2 separate regions of the Homo sapiens genome follow, and region 1 is linked to region 2. Evidence: promoter capture Hi-C in 16 types of primary human blood cells and fetal thymus (Javierre and others, 2016). All regions are on one chromosome and are shown on one strand. Each heading gives the region's core, a stretch centred on a gene start or on the middle of the fragment in contact. The rest is flanking DNA. Distances are from core to core; before and after follow the strand shown. Region 1 has its middle 7.4 kb from the start of CCDC63. Region 2 holds the start of TCTN1 (tectonic family member 1).

Region 1 (5,219 bases), core at 439-2,938, 220 kb after region 2:
AGGAAGAGAAGAGTGGCAAATGAATTGGACAGAAGATGGACTAGACGACGAAAAACAATATGTACATACCATGCATATGCTTAATAGATGTGGGTATTTTATTTTATTTTGTATTAAACATTTTTAAATAGAGATGGGGGTCTCATTATGTTGCCCAGGCTGGTCTCTAACTCCTGGACTCAAGCGATCTTCCCACCTTGACCTCCCAAAGTGCTAGGATTATAGGTGCGAGCCACTGCACCAGGCCAGGTGTGGTTATTTTTACGTTTTTCGATGCTCTAGAATGTCCCATGAGTAGATAAGCCATAATTTACTTTAAAAATCCTCCTCTTGGCCATGGCGTGGTGGCTCACACTTGTAATCCCAGCACTTTGGGAGGCGGAGGTGGGCAGATCACAAGGTCAGGAGATCGAGACCATCCTGGCTAACACAGTGAAACCCTGTCTCTACTAAAAATACAAAAAATTAGCTGGGCGTGGTGGTGGGCACCTGTAGTCCCAGCTACTCGGGAGGCTGAGACAGGAAAATGTCATGAACCCAGGAGGCGGAGGTTGCAGTGAACAGAGATAGCGCCGCTGCACTCCAGCCTGGGCGACAGAGCAAGACTCCATCTCGAAAAAAAAAAAAAATCCTCCTCTTGTTCATCTGTCTAGAAAACTTTTGTATCGGAGTACAATACACACATATAAAGGGGTCCATATCAGAAGTGTATGGCTGGATGAATTTTCACAAATGAATTGATTATGTAACCAGATCAAGAAACAGAATATCTGCAGCCCTGAAAGCCTCTTGATTTCCCTTCCAGTTATTTCTTCTCTATCCCCCTCTACCATATAACCTCTATTCTGACTTCTAAAGGCAAAGTTAGCTTCCCCTAATTTTGTGCTTTATATGAATGGCATTTTTCAGTATGAGCTCTTCTGGGCTTGGCTTTTTTCATTCCAAGTGTTTATTTTGTTGATTTTTACTTATTTCCACTTGCCTATGTAGAGATGATTTTACAATCGGCATCTTTGTATATATGGATTTTTTTTGCCTTTGGCTTATTTTCTTTTTCTTTTTAAAAAGTGCAATGCTGTTAATGTAACTTGAAAAATACCTCAGCATTCTAAACATACAAAATAAAGAAGATTCTTCTTCTTCTTCTTCTTCTTTTTTTTCGACATGGAGTCTCACTTTGTTGCCCAGGCTGGAGTGCAGTGGCAAGATCTTGGCTCACTGCAACCTCCCCCTCCTGGGTTCTAGTGATTCCCCTGCCCCAGCCTCCCGAGTAGCTGGGATTACAGGTGCCTGCCACAACGCCCGGCTAATTTTTTTTTGTATTTTTTTTTTTTTTTTTTTGAGACGGAGTCTAGCTCTGTTGCCCAGGCTGGAGTGCAGTGGTGGGATTTCGGCTCACTGCAAACTCTGCCTCCTGGGTTCACGCCATTCTCCTGCCTCAGCCTGGCTTTTTTTGTTTTTTTAGTAGAGGCGGGGTTTCACCTTGTTAGCCAGGATGGTCTCAATCTCGTGATCCGCCTGCCTCGGCCTCCCAAAGTGCTGGGATTACAGGCGTGAGCCACCATGCCCAGCCTTTGTTTGTATTTTTAGTAGAGATGGGGCTTGCCATGTTGGCCAGGCTGGTCTCGAACTCCTGACCTCAGGTGATCTTCCTACCTCAGCCTTCTAAAGTGCTGGGATTATAGGCATGAGCCGCTGCGCCCGGCCTGATTCTTGAACTTTCACTGATGGGTGGCTCTTTGTTTGCTGACAAGGAAGAGTTCTGTAGTTTGTTTAAAACAAAATTTAGGCCAGGTGCAGTGGCTCATGTCTATAATCCCAGCACTTCGGGAGGCCGAGGTGGGAGGATCATTTGAGGCCAGAGGTTCAAGACCAGCCTGGCCAACACAGACCCTGTCTCTGTTAAAAAAAAAAAAAAAAAAGCCAGGTGTGGTGTAGTTCCAGCTCCTCAGGAGGCTGAGGTGGGAGGATCACTTGAGGCTGGAAGGTCAAGGCTGCAGTAAGCTATGACTGCACCACTGGACTCCAGTGTAGGTAACAGAGGGAGACCCTTTCTCGAAAAGAAAAAAAAAGGCTGGGCATGGTGGCTCACGCCTGTAATCCCAGAACTTTTTTAGGAGGCCGAGGCGGGTGGATCACCTGAGGTCAGGAGTTTGAGGCCGGCCTGGCCAACATGGCGAAGCCCTGTCTCTACTTAAAAATACAAAAATTAGCCAGGCGTGGTTGTGGGCACCTGTAATCCCAGCTACTCAAGAGGCTGAGGTAGGAGAATCGCATGAACCCGGGAGGCGGAGGTTGGGGTGAGTTGAGACCGCACCATTGCACTCCAGCCTGGGCAACAAGAGCGAAACTCTGTCTCAAAAAAACAAAAAACAACCAAAAAACCCCCAAACACTTCTCATGCCAGCTGATCCCACTTTGTCCACAGCTAAGAATGGCAGCAGAATGCTATGTCACTCTATACAGAAACAAGACCACCTGAAGCTAAATAGATGCTCACCACGGAGTCAACAGGTCCTGTCTCACAGTGCACGCCCTGAGCTACCACTCCTCCGAAAGCCATCTTCCCCCACGGCCTCATTGCCAAGTGAGGAACATCAAGAGTTTGTCTTGGTTGTTTTGTTCTTTTTTACAAACTATGGATATGTACAGTTGATAACTCAGGATTTCTAGCCAATAACCGTATAGTTAACATCGTCTTAGAATTTAAAAAAATGTCAGAAACATCTTTAAATGCCTTGCCATACCATCAAAGGGCACAGAGAGAGGAGAACACAAGAGTGCCTTTGCATTTTAAAAATCTTTGACTTGGCCGGGCATGGTGGCTGATGCCTGTACTCCCAGGAGTTTGGGAGGCCAAGGCAGGTGGATCATGTGAGGTCAGAAGTTCGAGACCAGCCTAGCCAACATAGCAAAACCCCATCTCTATTAAAAAATGCAAAAATTATCTGGGTGTGGTGGCGCACACCTGTAGTCCCAGCTACTTGGGAGGCTGAGGCAGGAGAATCGCTTTAATCTGGGAGGTGGAGGTTGCAGTGAGCCGAGATAGTGCTACTGCACTCCAGCCTCAGCAACAGAGGGAGACTCTGTCTCAAAAAAAAAAAAAATCCCCAAGTTTGACTTATTTTCTTAGGATGAATCTCCACATTTAGGTTTCCTGGGTTGAAGAATATAAACATTTTTATAACTCTTGCTGTGTGAGGCCAAAATGTTTTCTGAAGAATCTACACCTGTGTCAGAAGTCTGTCACTGAGATAATGAGTGGCACTTATCTTATGGATTAGTACTGTTTTTACTTATTTTGTTTGTTTGTTTTTTGAGATGGAATCTCTCTCTGTTACCTAGGCTGGAGTGCAGTGGTATGATCTCAGCTCACTGCAACTTCCACTGCCCGGGTTCAAGTGATTCTCCTGCCTCAGCCTCCCAAGAAGCTAGGACTACAGGCACGCACCACCATACCCAGCTCATATTTGTATTTTTAGGAGAGATGGGGTTTCACCATGTTGGCCAGGCTGGTCTTGAACTCCTGACCTCAGGTGATCTGCCTGCCTTAGACTCCCAAAGTGCTGGGATTACAGGTGTGAGCCACCGTGCTCAGCCCTGTTTTTATTTTGAATGCCATGGGTGGGGTAAAATATTTCACAATCTTTGCAGACTTTAAAGTTCTCCATTTGGTCCTGGCAGTCTCAATAAATCAAGGCTCAGAGAAGTCTATTTGCTTTTCTAGGGGCACACAGCAAACCAGTGGCAGATCCAGGACTCCAGCATTCTGTCCACTGCGCCATTGTGCCTCACTGTGTTACAGGAAAGGGATCCGGATCCAGACCCCAAGAGAGGGTTCTTGGATCTCCTGCAAGAATGAATTCAGAGTGAGTCCATAGAGTAAAGTGACAGCAAGTTTATTAAGAAAGTAAAGGGATAAAAGAATGGCTACTCCATAGACAGAGCTGTCCCGAGGTCTGCTGATTGCCCATTTTTATGGTTATTTCTTGATGATATGCTAAACAAGGGGTGGATTATTCATGTCTCCCCTTTTTAGATCATATAGGGTAACTTCCTGACATTGCCATGGCATTTATAAACTGTCATGACGCTGGTGGGAGAGCAGCAATGAGGACGACCAGAGAACACTCGTCGCCATCTTGTATTTGGTGGATTTTAGCCAGCTGCTTTTCTGCAAACTGTTTTATCAGCAAGGTCTTTATGATCTGTATCTTGTGCTGTCCTCCTATCTCATCCTGTGACTTAGAATGCCTTAACCGTTTAGGAATGCAGCCCAGTAGGTCGTAGCCTTATTTTACCCAGCCCCTACTCAAGATGGAGTTGCTTTGATTCAAATGCCTCTGACAATTGGAAGGGAGGCCAAGAGGGGTGCAATTCTGGATCCCACTAGGAAGGAATTGGAAACTTTGGATGTCAACAATGGCCACGGTCTCTGTATCTGATAGTTCTTTTTTCTTTCCTGCCTCAGTTTATTTGTACAAAGAGCACAGGAGGACAATAGTCCCGTGGGGTTGACAGCCCAGGGGTTACACCAGTCCTTCCATCCTGGCCTGAGCTGGAAGTGAAGCTGGACCCCAAGCCTTGGTTTGATCCTTGGCCTTGGCCTTTGGCCGACAGAGCCTGAGACGCTTGGCAGTGCCAGCACAAGGCAGGAGAATCACTTGAACCTGGGAGGCAGAGGTTGCAGTGAGCTGAGATCTCACCACTGCACTCCAGTGGGGTGATGCAGGCAGGTTGATGGAGCTTCCCAAGCTTGGAGTGGGTGATGCAGGCAGGTCGATCAAGCTTGTGGCTGATGCCCTTTGGGATCTTGGGCTTAGCCTCCTCGGGCTTTGCCAGGGCCTTGATAGCCTCGGCACGTGCACCCATGGCCTTGGCATTGTTGGCCTGCATCTTCTTCAGGCTCTTTTTGTTGTGCTTCTTGGCAAAGCGCATGTTCCTCAGGAACTTAGGGTCCACCCCCTAAAGAGATTCATATCTTTGCGATCAGAATTTGTTTTTTGTTTGTTTGTTTGAGACAGAGCCTCCCTCGGTCACTCAGGCTGGAGTGCAATGGTGCAATGTCAGCTCACTGTAACCTCTGCCACCCAGGTTCAAGCGATTCTCCTGCCTCAGCCTCCTGAGTAGCTGGGACTACAGGTGCATGCCATCATGCCCGGCTAATTTTTTTGTATTTTTAGTAGAGACAGGCTCTCACCATGTTGGCCAGGCTGGTC
Region 2 (5,458 bases), core at 200-2,699:
CACGTCTAAGTACTTCGACATCTACTTCTGAACTGTATGGAGATTAAGTGTCAAAGGTGCAGCCAACATTCTTGGGCTTGGGTACCTCCTAAATAAGCCCATTCAGAATGGAGAGGGTTTCCTAAATCGTAGGGTCTCCAGGTCGTTTTGTAGCATTACAGTGGATTTGCTTTGTTTTCCCCTTTAAGATGTCTAAATTATTTTACTTAATTTTTGTAAAAGATTTTTGTCTTTAAATAGGTTCTTAGGCCTGGCGTGGTGGCTCATGCCTGTAATCCTAGCTCTTTGGGAGGCTGAGGCGGGAGGATCACTTGAGGCCAGGAGTTTGTGACTAGCCTGATCAACATAGTGAGACCCCCTCTCTACAAAAAATAATAAAAGGTATTAAGTGTTCATTTGTCCCCTTTATCACAATACAGCAGACAGAAGTTATCTGGCAACCTTGTGAGATGCAGCTAAAATAAAAAGGTGAAGCCAGTGTTGACAGAGTCTGGGATAGAGAAAATTCAGAGACAGTGATCTCACAGATCCCTGTGCTCCTTCCAAACACCCACGTTAGTGGCGTTGGGACGGCGCTTCCTAAATTTCCGTCCAACTCATCTGCTTGCGTCCGGACATTTGTTAAAAATATTTATTCCTGGCTGGGAGTGGTGGCTCACGCCTGTAATCCCAACTACTCAGGACTCAGGAGGCTGGAGCAGGTGGATCACTTGAACCAGGAGTTCGATACCAGTCCGGGCGACGGAGGGAGACCTCGTCTTTACAAAAAAAAAAAAAAAAAAAAAAAAATACAAAAATTAGCTGGGTATGGTGGCGCGCGCCTGAGTTCCCAGCTACTCAGGAGGCTGAAGTGGGAGGATTGCTTGAGTCCCAGAGGTCGAGGCTGCAGTGAGCCGAGATCGCGCTACTGCACTCCAGCCTGGGCGACAGAGTGAGACCCTGTCTCAAAAAAAATCCCCCAAAAACTGATTCCTGGGTCCTGCCCTAGACTAACTGACTCAGGATCTCCTGAGGTGGTACCTGGAAATCCGTCTTTTTTTTTTTTTTTTTTTTTTTTGGTTGAGACAGAGTGTCACACTGTCGCCCAGGCTGGAGTGCAGTGGCACGCTCACGGCTCTCTGTAGCCTTCACCTCCCGGGTTCAAGCGATTCTTCTGCCTCAGCCTCCCGAGTAGCTGGAACTACAGAAAATCTGCATTTTTTAAGCAAGCGCCGCGGACCGGTTGGAAACCACAGCCGGGATTTACACGCCCCTCGTTTACGCCAGCTTCACACCCGCTCACTAGTGCTCGCCCCTGTGCCTGCCATCGCTGCCTCACCCAGGCGCCGCCCTCCGGCCTCATCCGGGATCCGCCCCCTGCCTCATCCAGGCTTCGCCCCAGTCAGTCTCCGGCAGCTTCTCGCGGCTTCGCAAGCCCCTTCCCGTGATGCCCCGCGCCTGGCTGTCGCGGTTGCCGGGCAACGCGCTGTCCATGTCGCGGGCCTCGCTGGGACTCCCTGGGAGATGAGGCCGCGAGGTCTCCCGCCGCTCCTGGTGGTGCTCCTGGGCTGCTGGGCCTCCGTGAGCGCCCAGACCGATGCCACCCCGGCGGTGACGACAGAGGGCCTCAACTCCACCGAGGCAGCCCTGGCCACCTTCGGAACTTTCCCGTCGACCAGGCCCCCCGGGACTCCCAGGGCTCCAGGGCCCTCCTCCGGCCCCAGGCCTACCCCAGTCACGGACGGTGGGTACCATGTGCCAGCTCCTGGAGTCCACAGTGATCCAACCTCAAGGGGACAGCCCCGGTGAGGACGTAATAATGATAGCTAACTCTTATTGAGCACTTACTGTGTGCAGACACTGCTGAGTGTTCCATAAACGTCCATTCTCTAAACAATAACCCTGAGAAGTAGCTGTTACTATCACTGTCAGGTAAATGAGAAAACCGGGTCTCAGAGTTTAAGTGGAACGGTATCAAACCTTTGAAAATACTTGAAGTGGTCCCAGACAACAGTGATGCAAAGAGCAATAATGAATTCTTGCAGCCCAAGACGAAATTAAGTCGAGACAATGGTGGAAATTAGTGCCTTGGCTGCACTGAACTTTCACTTAAAGAGAGGCCAAAGGTCTATCTTACTAAATGTGACTATGTTAAGACCCTTCTCTGTTGACCTGAATTCTAAAAACCCAGGATTCCTCCTGTGTTGAATTGGAGGTGGAAAGCTATTGAGGGAGGGGTTATGCTCACTTCTTAGGAGTCATATGTAGGGATAATTAACATTTTTTTCAGAAAATGATTAATTCTAGAATTACACATTTAGTGGAAATATTTTATAATCTAATTTGACGTTTGGCTGGCGCCGTGGCTCACGCCTGTAATCCCAGCACTTTGGGAGGTCAACTCGGGTGGATTGCTTGAGGTAGGAGTTCAAGATCAGTCTGGTCAAAATGGCGAAACCCAGTCTCTACTAAAAATAGAAAAAATAGCCGGGCATGGTGTAATCCTAGCTACTCGGGAGGCTGAGGCAGGAGACTCGCTTGAACCCAGGAGGCAGAGGTTGCAGTAATTACCACTGCACTCCAGACTGGGCGACAGAGCAAGACTGTCTCAAAAAAAAAAATTGACATGGATGACTTCACTGAATGACTGTGACCCGCTAAGATTGAGTGCAAAACTTTGTGAATATGCCTTTTCCTGAGATGAGAGTTCATAGCAGCCGATTCTTAAAGTGGTTCATGATCTCAAAAAAAGTTTTTAAAATTTTCCGATTGTGTGAATTGAGAGTAACCCCAATAGATATGCAGTACTTTTAATCTTTTTTTATTCTTTTTTTGTTTTTGAGACAAGGTCTCGCTCTGTTACCCAGGCTGGAGTGCAGTGGCGTGATTATATCTCACTTAAGTCTCAATCTGCTGGGCTCAAGGGATCCTTCTGCCTCAGCCTCCAGAGTAGCTGGAACCACAGGCGTGCTCCCCCAGCTTGCTTTTTTTATTTTTTTATTTTTAGTAGAGATGAGATCTCGCTATGTTGTTCAGGCTGATCTCAAACTCCTGGGCTCAAGTGATCCTCCCACCTTGGCCTTCCAAAGTGCTGGGATTACAGGTGTAAACAACTGTGCCCAGCCTATCCCTTCTTAAGAAGATCTTTTCTCAAATTGATTAAGGCTCAGTATTAGTAAGTAAAAAAGTCATCAGCTGAGATCTTGAACTCTAGGACTTAACTGCGGTTACTGAACCTTTATTTCTCCAAAAGCTCTCCTTTCTGAATTACGAGTAATCTGAAAGAAAAAGTACAGAGAAATATATTTGCTATTTTAATATATAAACAGAGCTCTGTTTTATATTTAAATTGTTGATTTGATGAATTAGTAGGGAAGTTAAATCAGTGATAAACTGGGACAGAAGAAAGCCAAGTATTCAATGCCTGAAACTCTAAAGTTTTTGGACTGGATTGTCTTTTATTCATGTAAGTACTCCATCTGTTAATGCATTTTCTCTCCAAAATAAAGCTATGCTTGAAACATCATTATTATAGCATGTGTTCAAGGCTGTTTTTCCAGTATAGGGGATGAATTTGTGCTTGTCCTCACACTTTATTTTTTTTTTTTTTGGTCACAGGGTCTCACTCTGTCACTCAGGCTGGAGTATAGTGGCATGATCACAGCTCACTGCAGCCTCGACCTCCTAGGCTCAGGTGATCTTCCCACCTCAGACTCCCGGGTAGCTGGAACTACAGGTGCTGCATGCCACCACGCCCGGCTAATTTTTTGTAGGGACGGGGTTTCACCATGTTGCCCAGGCTGGTCTTGAACTCCTGGCCTCAAGTGATTGCCCACCTAGGCCTCCCATAGTGTTAGGATTACAGGCTTGAGCCACTGCACTCTGCCAGTCACCTGTCTTCACCTTTTTAAAGGACCTCTCTTTAGACTTGTGACAGTAATAACTCATTTGTTAACTGTTCACTGTGTGGCAGGCACTGTGCTAAGCATTTCACCTATGATGTATCTCATTTAATCCTTACAACAACCCCATGATGAGGGTACTGTTATCCCCATTTTTCAGGTGGATAAATTATTTGCCTAATTTTAGGACACGCAACTTGTAGATATCGGAGCAGGAGGCTGACTGTGAGTGGAGAACTGGATGGAAAATTGCAGGTGGCTTCAGGCAGTGTTGGTGGAGAAGAGTGATAACCCTTCATCTTGAATCTGGGCTCTGTTCATTAGTACCCTGCTCTACAAGCCAGGTGTGCAGATGCGATAGGAGGCAAGGGCAGCTGAGTGCTGCTTAGACCTGACAGGGGCTCAACAGCTACTTGGTGGATGATTAAGTACACTCGCATCCTGGGTAGAAACCTTTTTCCTAAGTGGAGTTATTAAACACTATTGCTTCGTCCTTAGTAGTCTTACAGCTGCCTATAAGGGCTTTAAGTTTTGAAAACAAAGCAAGATAGTAATTTTAAACATACAGGGAACCTAAAGCACTTTTAATTTTTTACATTAGCGTGCATAAGTTGTGTCATTTTACTAGGCACATAGAAGAGTTCTCAACTAGAGAGAAGCACTGTAAACTTTAGGGGGAAAGCTTTTGTGTCTTAGACTAAGAAATCATGGCATATTAACAAAACCTTCCCCTTCACCTCACACATTTTTTTTGCAGAGTGCATTATACCTTTTACGGGGTACTATTTTTTTTTTTTTAATTGCCCAGGCTGGAATGCAGTGGCGCAGTCTCAGCTCACTGCAACCTCCACCTCCCAGGTTCAAGCGATTCTCCTGCCTCAGCCTCCCAAGTAGCTGGGATTACAGCCGCGCGCCACCATGCCTGGCTAATTTTTTTGGTATTTTTAGTAGAGATGGGGTTTTACCACGTTGGCCAGGCTGGTCTCAAACTCCTAACCTCAGGGGATCCACTCTTCTCAGCCTTCCAGAGTGCTAGGATACAGGCGTGAGCTATGGGATACATTTTTCTTTTCTCTTTTTCTTTCTTTTTTTTTTTTTGAGATGGAATCTTGCCCTGTCACCCAGGCTGGAGTGCAGTGGCACGATATCGGCTCACTGCAAACTCTGCCTCCTGGGTTCAGGCTATTCTTCTGCCTCAGCCTCCTGAGTAGCTGGGACTACGGGTGTGTGCCACCATGCCCGACTAATTTTTGTATTTTCAGTAGAGACGGGGTTTTACCATGTCGGCCAGGCTGGTCTGGACCTCCTGACCTCGTGATCCACCTGCCTCAGCCTCCCAAAGTGCTGGGATTACAGGCTTGAGCCACTGCATCCGGCCGCTGTGGGGTACATTTTTCTAAAGCTCCTTTTTATCGTGAAATAATTCATACGTACAAATAAGAATGTTGGGTGGACACTAGCAGCATTTGCTTCAGATTCCTTTTTTGTTAATTTTGTTTTTTGGCTTGAGATCTTTTTTTTTTTTTTTTTGAGATGGAGTCTCACTCTGTCATCCAGGCTGGAGTGCAGTGGTGTGA

What was found. The method cuts DNA at HindIII sites, captures the fragments that hold promoters and counts their contacts. A CHiCAGO score of 5 or more calls a contact.
Region 1: a fragment that was not itself captured here is called in contact with the fragment with the promoter of TCTN1 in region 2 in 5 of 17 cell types (naive B cells, megakaryocytes, activated CD4 T cells and 2 more); the score reaches 6.9 in naive B cells.

What each region holds. Positions count from the first base shown.
Region 1 is chr12:110,837,007-110,842,225 of GRCh38, forward strand. It overlaps the pseudogene RPL29P25. Among named protein-coding and RNA genes, the nearest start is that of CCDC63, 7.4 kb to the right of the region's middle. The HindIII fragment of the contact is 6,129 bases long and covers 1-4,753 here.
Region 2 is chr12:110,612,680-110,618,137 of GRCh38, forward strand. TCTN1 (tectonic family member 1) reads left to right here and starts at 1,450. Exons shown (of 15, transcript NM_001082538.3): 1 at 1,450-1,723. The coding sequence starts at 1,504. RefSeq lists an enhancer at 1,727-1,776. The HindIII fragment of the contact is 6,908 bases long and covers 1-4,561 here.